Linked DNA regions of Homo sapiens: region 2 is linked to region 1. Evidence: promoter capture Hi-C in 16 types of primary human blood cells and fetal thymus (Javierre and others, 2016). All regions are on one chromosome and are shown on one strand. The core of a region is centred on a gene start or on the middle of the fragment in contact, and the rest is flanking DNA. Distances in the headings are between cores, read along the strand shown.

What was found. Contacts are between HindIII fragments. The CHiCAGO score rates a contact against its expected background, and 5 or more counts as called.
Region 2: a contact is called between a fragment that was not itself captured here and the fragment with the promoter of DDB1 in region 1, in 1 of 17 cell types (naive CD4 T cells). The highest score is 5.6, in naive CD4 T cells.

Annotation. Positions count from the first base shown.
Region 1 is chr11:61,329,883-61,335,405 of GRCh38, forward strand. It overlaps DDB1 (damage specific DNA binding protein 1), which reads right to left and starts at 3,223. Exons shown (of 27, transcript NM_001923.5): 1 at 3,026-3,223; 2 at 1,661-1,809; 3 at 76-192. The coding sequence starts at 3,086. It overlaps TKFC (triokinase and FMN cyclase), which reads left to right and starts at 3,346. Exons shown (of 18, transcript NM_015533.4): 1 at 3,346-3,447; 2 at 4,738-4,849. The coding sequence starts at 4,847. RefSeq lists enhancers at 2,785-3,307, 3,308-3,830 and a silencer at 3,226-3,485. The HindIII fragment of the contact is 9,653 bases long and covers 2,381-5,523 here.
Region 2 is chr11:60,815,908-60,821,430 of GRCh38, forward strand. The region is part of intron 2 of LOC105369322 (a long non-coding RNA gene); the gene reads right to left. Among named protein-coding and RNA genes, the nearest start is that of CCDC86, 23 kb to the right of the region's middle. The HindIII fragment of the contact is 4,558 bases long and covers 1,235-5,523 here.

The DNA.
Region 1 (5,523 bases), core at 1,973-4,472:
AGCACTTTAATTTTTTCCATGAATCATGACAGCCCTACTTAGAAAACTTTCATTGGCCTAAAGCAGCCACCTCACCTGGACATTGCCATGGGCTCGCGTAATGATGTCAATGCTCTCGCCACTCTGTTTATACTCCAGGATGCAGGCATTGTACTTCGCTGTCAAGATAAACAGCAGGTCCTTGCTCTCCCCCTGGAAACCAATATTATGCTATCAAAAGAGGTTCTTTTTAAAACAGGAACAACCTGTCCAGTCTTTAAGCACACCAAATTCTTTAAGAATTTTCCAAATTCTTCTCTCCCTAAAGAGAAAATACATGGTGAGCTTGTAACCCACACTAGGTACACATACACCCTAAGGGCATGTACAAAAAGCCAGAACTGAAGCTGGTAAACATCTAGTTCTCACTTTCATGATTCTCCATCTCTCTGTTCTACAAACAAAGTCTTCATCTATTTCAATCTCAAGCTAATCTCAATCATCCCATTCAAATTCTGAAAGATGAATGTAATGCCTCCTCCACTCCTCCCCAAGTATTTGAAGAAAGAGGAAAAAAAATGTGGGAATAACAACGGAAGCTAAAATGGATCAACAAAGTCCTACTTATTTAACACAGACTCCAAAAAATTGCTGTTTTGTTCAAAGGGTTATAATTAAAATTTTGAACCCACTGCTTTCTTGCCAGATTCAGTTAAGACAACATAAAGCAATGTGGTGGTGATTTGGATGAAAACATTTGCGCTAAAATAATGAAAATACTGATGGTAATTGTTTTTTTTGTTTGGTGTTTTTTTTTTTGGAGATGGAGTCTCGCTCTGTCACCGGGCAATGGGCGCCATCTCCACTCACTGCAACCTCCGCCTCCTGAGTTCAAGCAATTCTTGTGCCTCAGCCTGCCAAGTAGCTGGGATTACAGGCACGTGCCACCACACCCGGCTAACTTTTGTATTTTTAGTAGAGATGGGGTTTCACCATGTTGGCCAGGCTGGTCTCGAACTCCTGACCTCACGTGATCCACCCACCTCGGCCTCCCAAAGTGCTGGGGTTACAGGCGTGAGCCACCATGCCCGGCCTGGTAATTGTTAACATAACTGTAAATGCTTGCTATATGATAGGCCCTATGTTACTGAATCATTTCATCGTCACAACAACCCAGGGGATTTGATCTGAAAGGTGCCTTAAGTGGCACCTAAAGTCAGAATTAACAAGAAATGAAGCCAGGACTGCCCCACTCTGTAGCCTATCCTCTGAAACAAACTGCTTTAATTTCTCCCTTCTAAAGAAGTCAACTTCATAAATGTTTCCCTAATGAATCTCTCCTTTTACTTCTAGAAAGCTTGGTCAAGAGTACATACTGAAATTTGCTATCCAAAGAGAGAAAAAAGAGAAGAGTTTTTCTCCTAAAGCATATTCCACCCATCCCAAGAATTCGCAAAACAACCTAACACAGCCCAAGCACGGTGGCATGCCTACAATACCCCAGCTACTCTACTCCAGAGGCTAAAGTGGAGGGATTGCTTGAGCTCAGGAGTTCAAGACATCCTGGGCAACACTGTGAGACCCCCGTCTCAAAGAAAATAAATAAACAAACAAAAATAACATAAAACAACCTACGACCAACAGTTCCCCCTCCACTGCTTGTCCCAACTGCAACACTTACCTTGGGCCTGAAAAGCTCCATGACCGCAATCTTCCCATACATGCCCACCTCTTTGACGGGCCGAAGCCCCTCGGCGGTGACCACATAGATCTCTAATCTCGTGTTTTTGGCAATCAACAGGTTTAAGTCTTCGGCCGAAGTAAAGTGTCCTGAAAGAACAGACCCTCTAACTTTTGAACTCAGGGGAAGGGCCTCCCATCCCTTCAAAATAATCCTATCACTTATGTCTAAATACCTCCAGAATTCTCATTTACTTCACATACTTCTCCAACTCCCTCCAGCTACTCCCCTTCTTGCCAAATCCGGCACCTCAAAGAGTCTCAGTTCATGCATTCAACAAAGCTACTTCCCTAATCAGACTAAGAAAACTGGACTGGACCTAAGAGCCGTGTGTCCTCCAAATGACAATGACTGCGTAATCCCTTCTCATGCCTCTTGCCCCTCCAATTTTACTCTATTACAGTTACAGTGGCAGGCTCTAATTGAGAATGCCGGAGAAAGTGTTCACTTCTTCCAGTCTTCATCTAAAGTCTCACAAAACTTTTATCTGACAGACCAAGTCAAATGAAGAAGTCCCAGAGCTTTATATGAAAACACTGTTTTGTCCACACCCCCTGCCCTCCTGGCAGTCTACCAATACCTCCATCCACACTCAGCTACCTCCAACTCTGAACAACAGTTTTGTTTTGGAATCATGATTAGGGTGTATATAAACATGCAAGCTTGGGGTCTGCATATTCAGCTGAGAATGTGGGTTAAGATGACTCTTCCCGGGTTCTGAACATCGGTGTCCTTAACAATCCAAGCGCATCGTCAACAAGGCAAACCCAGCACTGGGCCAGGCAAACCAAACCCTCTTCTCCAGCAGGGCCCTCATGTAAACAACAGCCCCAGGCAAAGGGGTTAGCCTGAAGAGGGCTCCTCTCCCTCTGTGGGATAATGCGGGCATTCCTCACATCCCTCCACCTCCTGGGCCCCCCAGACTTCCCCACAGGAAAATCTTGACCCCAAAGTCGTCATTACCACCTCCCCTTTTCCTGGCCACAGAAAGCCAATCTCCGGGCCCAAACGACACCGCACAACCAACTCACACTCCTCTGTCTCACTGGGCCCGCCCTGTTCTCGAGGCCGAATGACCTCCCCAGGACGAAAGGGGACCCTCGAGAGCGGCTTCCAACCCCCAAAAAGCGCGTACAGGGACGACTCTTTCGAGGTCGCGGTGCTGGGGGAGGTTCCTCGGCCGCCAGCGCCTTCCATTCGCCGGGCCCACTCCTGCCCGGCCGCCCCCGGGGCGGCGGGCCTCCCTAGGCCGCGGCTCCCCCCAACTCCCTCACTCGCCGGGGTCTCCGGCCCCGGCAGCCTCACCGGTCACGCAGCCGTTCACGGCGGTGGGCTTCTGGGCCGTTACCACGTAGTTGTACGACATGTCGAGGCTTGGAGCGGCCCGTCGGGACTCGAGCGCGACACTAGAAAGAGGGACACAAGCGAAAAGACAGGTGGCCCCCAACAGCGCGCAGCGAACTCCACTGCCGCTGCCTCCGCCCCAGAGACACGTTGCAGGCCAGAGCGGCCGGGGCGCGGGGCATCACGGGACGGCCTCACCTGGCCTCTTGGAGGACTCCCGAAGCCCGAGGCCGCCAACCGAAGGAGGCCCCGCCCCCGGAGGCACCGCCTCGCCTCTTTCCGCCAGCGCCCGCAGGACCCGGATGAGAGCGCACGCTTCGGGGTCTCCGGGAAGTCGCGGCGCCTTCGGATGTGGCGGATGCGGCCGTGAGCCGGCGGGGGAGGTGCGCCAGTGTCCTCCGAGCTCGCCCGCAGACTCCCCACCCCGTTCCGCGCCCTTTGCCCTTCCCCGCATCCAGTCCTCCTTCCGTTGCTCCAGGAGCCCTCGGGCTGTTCCTCCTTTGGGAACGGGAAGGACTGCGGAGGCATAGAGAGGGAAGGGAGACCGCGATTCGTGCATATCCCAGACTAGAACCTTGCCTGCTTTCCTTTCACTGTCTCAGTTCCTCCAGATCCAGCTGGTGCCCTCGCCTGACGTTTGAACGACCACCTGCTCACCTCCTCCCTTTTGCGCGTTGATTCTTCAGACTTCAAAGGGCCCACCGGTCTGCTTGCCCAACGTTATTAGTGCCCCTATTGCTCTACAAATTCGAACCTCAAACACAAAACCAGTATTTCTCCGTAGGGAACCTTAATGAGCCAGGAGAGCCGTCAGCCCTGCAGCCTCCAGGGTACCCCACATCAAACAGGCTCCCCGGGAACAAGAGGAATACCACGTGGCTTGGCACACTCGCAGAATGCCAGAGAGGAGCCAACCCCCATTTTACAGATGAGGAAGCTGAGGCTTAGGGAGGAATTGGTTTACCTAAGACCCTCCCCACAACCCCAAGTAGGCTGAGGCAGAGCTATGTTGATTCTTCCTATTGTGCACCCACACAGAGGCCAACACGCTGCTGAACCAGGCTGAACTGAGGAAAAGCTAGAAAGTCATCGTGGTTTACATCTTGCCTTTCCCATAGCAGAGACTCTGCCTGACTTTGGAGGCACTGAATTATCAGTAGTAAAAACACACTCTGTAGAAAAACTAGACATTGGTTTAGATTCTGGCTGTTACCTGTATTACCTTGGACAAGTCCCTAGAGCTCTCTGAGTCTGTTTCCCAGAAGTAAAATGGGTCACAAACCTGGCTAGCTCCCCCCATTCCCTTCCCTTTTGGTGCCAAGGCCAGTGAGGGCAAGCGTGTGACGAGCTTTGTTAACTTTTTCGCTGCATGTGATGCCCGTGTAAAAGATAGTTATTCTGAGGATCACTGTCCTTTAGTGATGAAGTGGGTGCTGTTCCTGGACATAAAGGCAGACCTGTGCTTGACATGGATTGATCTGTCTTCTGGCAGTGAAGTGCAGGCATGAACCTTGGTCAGCCCCACACTCTTCTCCATCCGTAGCCCATGTACTAGAGTTTGGACTTGGACCGAAGTCTGGGGCAGCTCCCTAATTACTAGGGTGCTGAAGGCGTGATTGTGCCAGTCGACTGCGAGTTCCTTCCGCAGCTTGTATCGTTACCCACTCCTGCAGGTGCTGCTGCTGCCTCCACTGTACTCAGACCCAGGTAGCACAGGATTGTCCATCCTCCAGCAGCTCAGTGCAACGGTGTGAACTCAGCCTGTTTCAGAGCCTCCACACCATGGTGAGTCATACAGGGCCGGGACGGGAATGGCAGCATGGTCTCAAAGCAGGATCCCAGCCTTGGGCAAGCTAAAGCTCCTTACACTTTGACTGAGAGATGCTATTGCCTCCTGAGGCTCACGGGTGAAGAGAGAGGGTCATCCTCTCTCCCAGGGTCTGATCCCTGCTTTTCTTTGTTTCCTGGAGGCTGCTGGTCCCAGCCAGGCCTGGGGCTGCAGCCTCTTGAGTCCCTTCAGAGCCACTCTGCCCCTTATCTGGGTCTTGCATTCAGAGTAAAACAGTAACAGTTACCTGCTCTGTAATAGACATTGTACCGGTCACAGAAGGAATCGTGAAGAATGACCATGTGACCGTTCCTAACCTTGGGGCTTATGTGGGCCGGTCTGGAGCTGGGATCTACAGTGTGGGAGGCTGGCCATGTCCCTGGGCTTTGCTCCAGGCCCACTGATTTGAACCAAAACAAGCCTTGAACATATCTGGATTCAAATTTCAGCCTGCCACTGACCAGCTGCATGACCTTTTACAGACCTCTCTGCGCCTCTTTTTCTTCATCTGCATTATAAGGCAAATTAAGGCCTACCTCCAGTGGTTGTGTGGTGTTGATCAAGCAGAGTCCTGGAGGCCTCACTTGACTTCCTTTCCTTTTCCATCCTTTCAGGCCACTGAAACCAGGGA
Region 2 (5,523 bases), core at 2,264-4,763, 510 kb before region 1:
ATAGAAAGGCGGGAAAGGTGGGGAAAAGGTTGAGAAATCGGATGGTTGCCATGTCTGTGTAGAAAGAAGTAGACATGGGAGACTTTTCATTTTGTTCTGCACTAAGAAAAATTCTTCTGCCTTGGGATCCTGTTGATCTGTGACCTTACCCCCAACCCTGTGCTCTCTGAAACATGTGCTGTGTCCACTCAGGGTTAAATGGATTAAGGGTGGTGCAAGATGTGCTTTGTTAAACAGATGCTTGAAGGCAGCATGCTCCTTAAGAGTCATCACCACTCCCTAATCTCAAGTAATCAGGGACACAAACACTGCGGAAGGCCGCAGGGTCCTCTGCCTAGGAAAACCAGAGACCTTTGTTCACTTGTTTATCTGCTGACCTTCCCTCCACTATTGTCCCATGACCCTGCCAAATCCCCCTCTGTGAGAAACACCCAAGAATTATCAATAAAAAAATAAATTAAAAAAAAATAAAAAAGAATAACCAAAAAAAAAAAAAAAAAAATCCCAAGTAAACACATTAATGGATTCCAATAGTCAAATCTGGAACACAATGTACCTTTGAGTATGCTTGATTTCAACAGTTTGTTCAAATAGTCAAAATCTATATTTTAAAAGTGGAATTCTCATCAAATATTGTCCAAAAAAATAAATGAGTAGAAGTGAGACGGCCAGTCAAGTGTTTTGCCCTGCCGTTTGCCCACTGTGTGTGGCCTTGGGGATGGAGGGGGAGATGTTGGGGAGGTACAATGGGAAGGGAAACTTCTCCTCTCTGGCTATAAGTTCCCACATCTACAAAATGAATAAGCTGAAAGAAAATGAAAATATAACATATACAAATCTGTGGGATGCAGCTAAAGCAGTTCTTTGAGGGACATTGATAGTCTTAGATGTTTTTATTTGAAAACATGAGTAGACTCAAATCAATAAAATAACTTTCCAACTCCTTCCCTTAGAAGACCAGAACAGTCACAGCATCATACAAGCATGACTCCTAACAGGTGGATGCAATCTACCAGTCATTCTAGCCCATCACTCTCATTTTACAGATGGAGAAACTGAGACCTGGGGAAGGCAGCAACTGGCCTATCACACAGAATGTTAGTGGCAGAGCCAGGACTTGAACCTCAGACCTGTTATTGTTTCTCTTGGAGGTCAAAGACTGGGGCTTATCTCCCTGCCTTTATTCCTAGGATGGCACAGGTAGGAGATCCCGAAAACTTGTTATTCTTTGTGAAGCTTGATCAATGAAGAACCTTTAGGTCCCCCCAAACACTGGTCCATGTCCTCACACTGGACATGTGGCACTCACATGGCAGTTTCTCCTGGCAGTGCTCAGCTGTGTCCTGACACCCTTCTGGATCCTCCATCCCATTGATTAATCATCTTTGGGGACTAATTTCCTTAGACTATGTCCTTGGTTAGCCAACCTTTTCCTTTTGAAGCTGAATGGGGTCAGTTTCTGTTATTTGTGTTAATTCTGCTAGACTGGGAGACTAGTGGGGATTTTTCTAACTTTGTAATCCTGGCACTTAATATGTGTTGGAATAAAACATCTGTATGGGCGTGGTGGTGCACACCTGTAGTCCCAGTTACCCAGGAGGCTGTGGCGGGAGGATTCCTTCCTTGAGCCTAGGAGTTCAAGTCCAGCCTGGGCAACATAACAAGACTCATCTCTTAAAAAAAAAAATCTGCTAACTTTGCCCTCCTCTCGGCTTGTGTCTGGGGAGGACCCTTAAGGAAAGAGCAGCCACATGGCTGGGGCTGGGCTCAGGCTCCTGCTCCCCAACTTGAATGGGCAGAAAGGAAACAGCAGGAATTTATCCAGCACCTACAGTGGACTGGCCATGACAATACCACCCCCTTTACACAGAAGAGGAAGCTGAGGATCAGAAAGTCGAACGGCTTGTCATAAGGAAGCACACTTACTGGAATTCCAGTGCAGCTGTCGTGCAGCACAATCCGTGGGTAACTCAAGTGAGACCCCGAGCCTTGCCGAAAATGTGGATTATATGGTAATATCGGCAGAGCCCAGGCAGGACCTCAGAAGTATTAGACACAGAAGTCACACATGTTTGGACAATGGATGCTATTTTTCTGTTTAAATTTTTAAAAATTATAGTAGAAATGTATAGTTGATCCCAACCATGAAACTAAGAATGTCAGAATCAGAAATGACTTTGGGGATCATGATCGGGTCTAATGCTTCCATTTCACAGATGAGGAAGTGGGGGCCCGAGATAGGAAAGGACTTGCCAAGGTCACACAGTACCGTTAGTAGAAGCAGCCGGGTCTCCTCCCTCTCCAGACAGTCCTCCATCTACTGGCAGTCTCCTGCCAACTCCTGCTGAATGGTCAGGAATGTTCCCAGTTCCTTCTGCCAACTCTATCACCTGTAGGGGTCTCTATCCCCACAATAGCATCACCCACCAGCTTTTCCTGATGGTTGCTCTACCCCACTGTCATGGCCCAAACAGGTGACAGAGAAGTCTAGAAAAATAACTCCTCCAAAAATATCCAGAAAGAGTTAAGGGAGTAGTGAGAAAGTGGCAACAGGGCTGACCTGCCAGGAGGAGCAGGGCTTTTGCAACGGGCTCCATGAAGCCATGAGCCTGAGGCTCGGGGTGCCTTCCCAGCATGCCAGCCCCACCAATCCACTGCCGAGGTTCAGACATGGCCCTGGACAGATGTCAGGATTAGCAGATACCCACTTACAAAAGAAACACACAGGCTTTTCAGAGAGGTGTACCCATATTTCCACAGAGGACAGGTGGGCATCTCAGACGGCCTCATCTCGAGGACTCATCTCAAGCTGTTTGAGACAGGTCTATAGGACCCAAGGGGTGAGCACAGTTTTAAGCCTCAAGAGGGCCCTAGTCCATTATTTCTGCAGCTGATTTGTGTCTGGCAGGAAAGAAAAAGCTAACATGGATGCAGCCACCTCCACGTGCTGGGAACTGCACGGGCACTTTGCATGTAGTATCCCATTTAATCTCACAAGATCCCATGGAATAGGGATTCCTCTGCCCCCTTTTTGAGATGAGCAAATGAAAGCTCAGGGAGGTTAACGAACCTGCTTGGGTGTGGGGTTGTATCATCAACACAGAGGGCTACGCAGCCAGAAGACCTCACAGGCACCACTGAAACCCACCAGGGCCTGAAGGATGGGAGGGTTTGGATGGGCCAGTATCCTGCAAACTGGCCTGATCGAAAGGGTCACCTGGGGTATGTTAAACGTGGAGATTCCCAGGCCCCTGCCCTAGAGAGTCTGATTCAGAAGGCCAAACGTGAGGCCCAAGTCACTGTATTTTCAGCAAGTGCTCAGATGATTCTTATGATCAAGCAAGATTGGGAAACACCAGGTGGAGAAAGAAGGAAAAGGAATGGGTTGCAGGGCATAGACACGCCTTGTGCAAAGGCTCAGCAATGACCTCAGTGAAGCATGTTTGGAGGGCAGTGAGAGCACAGGTTGAGGCAGAGAAGGAGTGATATCAGGAGAGGTGAAGATGTGTCCAGGCTGCTGGACAGAGAGCCCCATGACCAGGTGAAGGTCAAGAGCTTCAGGCCTTAGGATCCCAGGGACCTCCCAGCTCTCTGTTCCTGGGTTTGCTTAGAATTGGAGGCATGTTTTCGGTTTTTTGTTTTTGTGTTGCTTTTTATTTTTCTTTTAATGTCTCTCACTTTTGCTTAGGGAGGCAGTGGGATGAACACTGGACAGGAGTCAGAAGCCATGGGTTCCAATATAGGCCCGACTATTTACAGTCTGTCTGACCTGAGCCAACTGGAGGGTTGCTCCCAGGCCTCATCACACAGGAGGCTTAGTAATTAAGCACAGGACCATGTGTGAAGACTCCAGGTAAGTGGTAACAAGCCATACAGACAGGTGTAGGCTGTGGAGTTGGTGGTGTTATTAACTAGCCTGGCGGACTAGAAGGGAATGGCCTGGGAGATAAGTGGGGATGTATCGTAAAGCAGGAAAAAAACCCAGGTTTTCTAGCCAGCTGTCTTGGATTTAGATCCCAGCTCCACTATTTATTAACCGTGTCATCCAAGCAAGTTACTTAACCTCTCTGGTCCTCAGTTTGCATAAGAGTGAAATGGAGATTGGGCTTACCACATTATAAATGCATGCTGGTAAGCATGAGGTTGTAGTGGTTGTCACCAGGTCCAAACTTCTTCCCTTACCTCTGTCTCATTAACTCCCTTTTACCTCCATTCCCCACAGCCTTCCAGCCCCAGGTAACAACTTCAGCACGTTTTAATGCATGTTGTGTTACAGGATATTAGTGTACACATATTTAACTTGTGTGTATGGTATTGTTTTGTCTCATTTTGGTTCTTTTTTTCCCCCTCTCAGCCTGTGTCTAAGAGCCACCACGTTGCTCTCTGTGGACATCCTGACCTTTGCTTTTAGCTGCTAAGAATTACACACAATTCATGTTTTACCAATCACTCCTCCTGGTGACGTAGCTTCACTTTTCAGATGGGAAAACTGAGACCCAGGAAATGGGGATCTGCCTGTGAATGTTCTTCCTCATCCTGGGACCCCAGTTGTGTGTGCTGCAGGTGTCTGAAATGTCAAAAGCAAGACCCAGGCTCCAGCTCCCTCCAGGAGACATGAGGCAGCCCAGCCCACAGCCCACCTGCCTTCTGAAGCCAGCTGACAGGGCAGCAGCAATTAGTGAGGCTCCCTCCTTCTGAAAACTCAGGGGTGCCATGGCAGAGCCCAGAGGAGCCATCCTGGTAGGCTGAGACCCTGGGCAATGCCCACCCCAGCAGAGAGAAGCTCTTTTTCCGGGGACAGCCAACCATCTTGGGAGTAAGTGGATCACCCAGTCTCCACAGACCTGTGCAGCCACTGCCAATCCCAACAGTGATGCAGTCAGTAGAATTTATGGGGCCAAGGGTACATACCAGTGGAGGGACTGTGGAGCAGCAGGGAGGCAAGACAGAGCTGCTGGGGTTTTCCTTCCTGGCCTCCAGCCCTGAAAATTAGCAGCAAAGGGCTGGGGCTGCCACTGCCCTGGAAAGCACTGCTTGAATCCAGGATACGAGAGCAAACCTATGTCCCCCTTGCCAGGCCCCAGGAGCTGGGTACCATCGCTCTAAGGCAACTCTGGGGTGAACCGGGAGCTTTCCTTTTCTGATGCCGCACCCCTGCATCAAGGCTCTCCTCATTGTAGCTGATTGGGTCTTGGTCAGTGGTGAGACCAGCACGTGTGGGCAGAAGTCTGTGCCTGTCTCCCGCTGATGTCAATGTGGGCAGCTGAGCAGAGAGTATGGGCCCAGCCAGGCACTGGAATCCTAGCTCCTCCGTTCTCTGCATGTGTGGCTCTGGGTCCCAGTTTTGAAAATGAGGTCTCTTTTACCTTGCCGTTGAGCACGAAACGATGGGAGGAGCGGAGCCTGCTGGGAGAAGCTACTCCTCTTGGGTGACAGAGAGGTGGAGTGTTGAGGGTGAGGTCAAAGTGCTGCTCTCAGGTCAGAGAAGCCTATTTGAGACAAATGATCGCAAACTTCTGGGCT